Regions from separate parts of the Homo sapiens genome. Here region 2 is linked to region 1. The links are contacts of gene promoters, found by promoter capture Hi-C in blood cells and fetal thymus (Javierre and others, 2016). All regions are on one chromosome and are shown on one strand. Each heading gives the region's core, a stretch centred on a gene start or on the middle of the fragment in contact. The rest is flanking DNA. Distances are from core to core; before and after follow the strand shown.

Evidence for each region. Contacts are between HindIII fragments. The CHiCAGO score rates a contact against its expected background, and 5 or more counts as called.
Region 2: a contact is called between a fragment that was not itself captured here and the fragment with the promoter of KNG1 in region 1, in 1 of 17 cell types (total B cells). The highest score is 5.5, in total B cells.

The regions. Positions count from the first base shown.
Region 1 is chr3:186,715,759-186,718,642 of GRCh38, forward strand. KNG1 (kininogen 1) reads left to right here and starts at 1,601. Exons shown (of 10, transcript NM_001102416.3): 1 at 1,601-1,979. The coding sequence starts at 1,785. The HindIII fragment of the contact is 10,098 bases long and covers 1-2,701 here.
Region 2 is chr3:185,959,438-185,962,616 of GRCh38, forward strand. It overlaps the pseudogene NMRAL2P. Among named protein-coding and RNA genes, the nearest start is that of TRA2B, 23 kb to the left of the region's middle. The HindIII fragment of the contact is 4,527 bases long and covers 1-3,179 here.

The DNA.
Region 1 (2,884 bases), core at 351-2,850:
AAAAAAAAAAAAAAATTAGGCATAGAATCTAAGAATAAATTTAACCTGAAATTTATAAGTGTATATAAAATAAGATGCAAAACCATGTTTTACATCTCTCCAAGAAATCTTTGTTCTATTTTATAGGTGAGCACAAAGATTTTCTTTACATAATTTTTTATCAGAAACAAAAAGATTGAAAATAGTCCAAACATCTATGTCCTGTGTCAAAAAAAAAAAAAGGAAAAAAGAAAGAAAAAGAAAAATTAGGTTTGTCCTCATGAACATGGCTCTACAGACTTTTTAAAAAAATAAAGTCTGAACAAGGAGCAGAGTGAATAGGCCGAATTTTTTTTTTTTTTTTTTTTTTTTGGACAGAGTTTTGCTCTTGTTGCCCAGGCTGGATTGCAATGGCGCAATCTCAGCTCACTGCAATCTCCACCTCCCGGGTTCCAGCAATTCTCCTGCCTCAGCTTCCCGAGCAACTAGGATTACAGGCATGTGCCACTACGCCCGGCTAATTTTGTATTTTTAGTGGAGATGGGGTTTCTCCATGTTGGTCAGGCTGGTCTCGAACTCCCGACCTCAGGTGATCCACCCATCTCAGCCTCCCAAAGTGCTGGGATTACAGGTGTGAGCCACCGTGCCTGGCCAATTTTTACTGGAGTAAGGATGTTGATACCATCAAGCCTCACACTTCTGCTGAGATTATCAACTGTAGTTTTCCAATGTTGGTCTACAGGTGGGGACCATTCTGTAATATAGTTTCCCCACTCTGTGTTGATGTGAGGAAAATAAGAATAATAAAGTTTTATTGCTGGCTTTGAGGGAGAAGGGTTCTATGACCCGCCTTGGGGAAGAGAAATTCTAGCTTCTGTGGCCTGCCTTGAGAGAAGTGGAGCAGGAGAAAGACGGGCAGGAGAAAGCAAGAAAGAGACTTTGCTTTTGCAGCCTTTTTAATGTCTTTCAGTTCAAAGTACTCGGCATGCCAAAGAGCCATATTTGGGGCTATCTTTTTCTGTGCCAAACCAACAACACCAAACCAGAAAGAAGCAAGCATAGGGAATCCAGGGCTTCACTCAACCCATCCCTTCCTATGCTTTTCCTCTATCTCCACCCTGGGAGCAATTTTCTTTTACAGAACTAATGCAACTGAGCAGAGAAAGGCTGGCCTGTCCAGAGAGCAGATAGGACGCCCATATTTTATTTTCAGTTGTGCCAATGTCCTGCATGGGACTCCTGGAACTCACTGGATGCCCCTGTGCATGAGCTTCTTAGGCATGTAATAGAATTAACAGCAGTCTGCTTCTATGCAGGTAGGTATCCTGCAAAGAAACTTTGTATGAAATGTGTCTGCACATTGTACTCATTCTTGCATTGTTTACCCATGTAGTGACCTTCAAAAATGGCTTTGCAAAAGTCACAGGGGAATAACCGAGTTAGTAGGCACTTGTTTCCCCTCCTTCATCAGATTCTGCTCTGATTTGCTACATAAAGTTGTATAATCACCTGGAAATATGCACTGTGCTGCCACGTGATTTTCAAATGCAAATGAGCAGGTTAACAACCCCAGTGTTGCAATGTTCTAGCTGTAAATATGTTTGGATAACCCAGCAGAGCCATTTAACCTTTGGGAACAAGGCAACTAGCGTCTGGCAGCAGGAATCCAACCAGTGCCCTGAGTTCTGAGGCAGAGAGGAGGACAGAAGAAACAAGAGGCTGGAGATTGTCAAATTCAGTATCCCAGTTGGCTCTTGATTCTTGGTGAAACCATCCCTCAGCTCCTAGAGGGAGATTGTTAGATCATGAAACTAATTACCATCCTTTTCCTCTGCTCCAGGCTGCTACTAAGTTTAACCCAGGAATCACAGTCCGAGGAAATTGACTGCAATGACAAGGATTTATTTAAAGCTGTGGATGCTGCTCTGAAGAAATATAACAGTCAAAACCAAAGTAACAACCAGTTTGTATTGTACCGCATAACTGAAGCCACTAAGACGGTGAGTGAATTGTGTTTAACCTTGAAGTCACTTGGGATTTGTACTATCACTAGGAGTCCAGGCCTCACACACACACACACATACCACCACCAGCACCCACCACCACCACCCACCACCCACCACCATCACCCACCACCACCACCACAACCACCACCACCACCCACCACCACCACCACCATCCACCACCACCCACCACCCACCACCACCCACCACCATCACCCACCACCCACCACCCACCACCACCCACCATCATCACCCACCACCACCCACCACCATCACCCACCACCCACCACCACTCGCCACCATCACCCACCACCATCACCCACCACCCACCACCCACCACCACCAACCACCACCATCCACCACCACCAACCACCACCCACCACCACTACCACCCCTCACCACCCACCACCACCGCCACCCACCACCCACCACCATCACCCACCACCACCACCATCCACCACCACCACCCAACCACCACCACCCACCACCCACCACCATCACCCACCACCCACCACCACCCACCACCCACCACCCACCACCATCACCCACCACCTACCACCCACCACCCACCACCACCACCACCCACCACCACCCACCACCCACCACCACCACCACCCACCACCACCCACCACCACTACCACCCCTCACCACCCACCACCACCGCCACCCACCACCCACCACCATCACGCACTACCAAATATGTGATCATCAAAGGTAGAAGCTTACAACTTGTGGAAAGACAGATACCACTCTCTGGCCTGGGGTGGGAGGACAGAGTATGACTCGTCCTCAGGCAGGTTGGCTTCCTGGATGATCAGAGAAGTAGAATCTAGGGTGAAATGAAACAAAAGTAGATGGAGAAATCTCAACAGGACCAAGTAGAGAGGGAGAATTTAGGAATT
Region 2 (3,179 bases), core at 167-2,666, 760 kb before region 1:
GAAACTCCATTAAAAAGAAAGAAAGAAAGAAAGAAAGAAAGAAAACAGCAGTGTTGGCTGAGTGCAGTGGCTCATGCCTGTAATCCCAGCATTTTGGGAGGCCAAGGTGGGCGGACCACCTGAGGTCAGGAGTTCGAGACCAGCCTGGCCAACATGGTGAAATCCCCTCGTCTCTACTAAAAATACAAAAAAAAAAAAAAAAAAAAAAAATTAGCCAGGCATAGTGGCACGTGCCTGTAATCCCAGCTACTTGGAAGGCTGAGGCAGGAGAATCCTTTGAACCCAGTGGGTGGAGATTGCAGTGAGCTGTGACTGTGACATTGCACTCAAGCCTGGGTAACAAGAACAAAACTCCATCTCAAAAAAAAAAAAAAAAAAAAAAAGAAGAAGAAAAGAAAAAGAAAAAAAGAAAATTGAAAATTGCAGTGTCACAGTGAGTAAGTGGACTAGTGGTAACAGGAACAAGGAGGGGCACAATAAAAGGCGTGGTAATTGGAATGGGTTTATAATTCTCACCAGAGAAGAAACACAGCATTTCGGCTGGTGTCGCTGCTCCAGGGAAAGTTCTGTTACTCCACTGACTCTCTCTTTTCCTGATAACATGGCCAGCAAGAAAGTAATTACAGTGTTTGGAGCAACAGGTAAAAAGTCTTTAATTTTTAGGGCATGCTGACTTTGCTCACTCTCCTGTCTTCCTGTTTGTAACTTTAGAGCCTGCAAGTGTGGGCTGAACAAAGAGCTCTTTGGAAGAAATTTTTTAAAGTATCCTATTGCTTTAGTTCTTGATGTGGTAAAGGGGTGGCATGATTTGATTTGTAACTTGATCTCAGCAGGACAAGGACACTGACGTAATCTCCCTTTCCCAGTCATGGGGCTAACTGGTTGGTATAAGTCTCATTTCAACATAAGCTATACTCTGAAGTCTTCTCTCCACTCACTTCCTAATAAGCAAAAGGTACAAGTGTGAGGGGCCTGGGGGTTTGTAGTGAATATCCAATGCCTGACCAATCTTCCAGGGAGTCTGCAAGGATGGAGTGTGTGGGAAGTTTGCATTCCTGGCTCCCTTACAGTTTGTTCCTCAACAGTCAGAGCCATCTTTGCACAATATAAATCAAATCAGGTTTTTCTCCTTCAATCTATTCTCATTTCAGCCTCCCAAGGATCCATTTGAAACTGTCAGATCATGTCAGGCCTCTGCTCAAAACCCTCTAAAAGATCCCAGCCCCATGGCACTCCCAGTAAAGTGCAAAGTCCTGCTAATGCCCTGCAACAGGGCCTTGGAAATGTTGTGTCAGAACTCTCTTCCTGCCACCCTCCTCTCACTCCGCTTCATTACCCTGGCTTTCTTGCTGTTCCTCCAAAACAATCCCACAAATACAAAGGCTCTGGCCTTTGTATTGGCTGCTTCTTCAACCTAGAATGATCTCCCTCTGTTACTGATATAATTTGACTGTGTCCCCACCCAAATCTCATCTTGAATTGTAGTTCCCACAATCCCTACATGTCATACGAGTGACCAGGTGGAGATAAATGAATGCTGGGGGCGGTTCCCCCAGCCTGTTCTCATGATAGTGAAAAGAGAGAGTTCCCTGGTCCTGGTCCCCCACCACAGGGTGTGCCACAGGGGTGTGGCTCTCTGTTCTGCCACTGCAAGCTCAAACTCTTTAAGAGATGGGGAGCATGCATACCGGTAGGTGCAGGAACTGGGGCAAGTGCTTTTGGGCTCCAGCCCTATGGCAGCATCTAGGGGTGGGTGTCTGTAACTTTCAAAGCCCAAGTGTGCATGTGTTACAGTGCACTCTTTTAGCCTTGCCATCCACAGATGGCTTAAGGGTTAACCAGCTCAGTGAACCCTCTGCCTTTTTGCAAAAGGAGGGGGCTAGTGTGACAACTTTCTGTATCCCAAGCCCTCATCCAGCATCCCAGAAGAATCAGGTCACACATGGACTTGAAGGATGAATGCAGGGGTTTTATTGAGTGGTGGAAGTGGCTCTCAGTGGGATGGTTGGGGAGCTAGACAGGGGATGGAGTAGAAATATGATCTTGCCCTGGAGTTTGGCTGTCCAGTGGCTGATTCTCCGAACATCCTCAGCCAAACTCCTCCTGACGTTCCTTCTCTTCTCTCCTCTGCTGCACCATTCTGCCATCTGTTTGTCTCCTTGTCTCCTAGTCTGCTTCTGGAGCCTGGGGTTTGGGGCTTATATGGATACAGGATAGGGGTGGTGGCAGGCCAGAAGGCAACTTTTGGGGTGCAAAAACAGGAATGCCTATTACTTAGGGCAGCAGGTATCCAGGCTTAAGGGTGGGGCCTTTGCCAGGAACCACCCTCTTCTACCCAGTATTTCCCTGTCTCCTGTTCGTATCAATAGTGAGTTCGTTCTCATGAGATCTGGTGGTTTTACAAGCGGCTTCCCCCTTCACTGGGCCCTCATTTTCTCTGCTGCCACCCTGTGAAGTGGTGTCTCCCGCCATGATTGTAAGTTTCCTGAGACCTCCCTAGCCATGTGAAACTGTGAGTCAATTAAACCTCTTTTCTTTATAAATTACCCAGTGTTGGGTATTTCTTCACAGCAGTGTGAGAAAGAACTAACACAGTTACCCACTGCTTTCCCCCTCATGCCATTCAGGTCTCTGCTTAGATGTTACCTTTTCCATGGGGACTTTCCAGACCTCTATATTTGAAATTGCAACTCTGCTTCCACCCTGCCCATGTCTGGCTCCCTTCCTTACTTCAATTCTTCTATTTCTGCCTGTCTTTCCACACTAGAATATAAGCTCTATGAGAACAGGAATTTGTCTGGAGGAAGTCAAGGGCTAAAGCAGGAAGCAGAGTGAAATAAATTCTCAAAAATCAACAGTCAAGTATGATATTAAAAGGAGAAGAAGAGGCAATGGAGCGGGGGATGACTCTATTAAGCGTTAGGGTGATGGTAAAGATGTTGGCTTTTCCTGAAAGAGAAAAGTGATCGAAGGGTTTGGTTTTTTCAGTGTGTTTGTGTTTAGCTACAGGGTCTCACTGTGTTGCCTGGGCTGGAGGGTAGTGACTCTCCATCCCAGGAGCCATCATAGTACACAGCCTCAAACTCCTGGGCTCAAGTGATCTTCCCACCTCAGCCTCCCAAGTAGCTGGGACTGCAGGATTGCAACAGCATACCAGACACTGAAGGATTTTGAGCAGA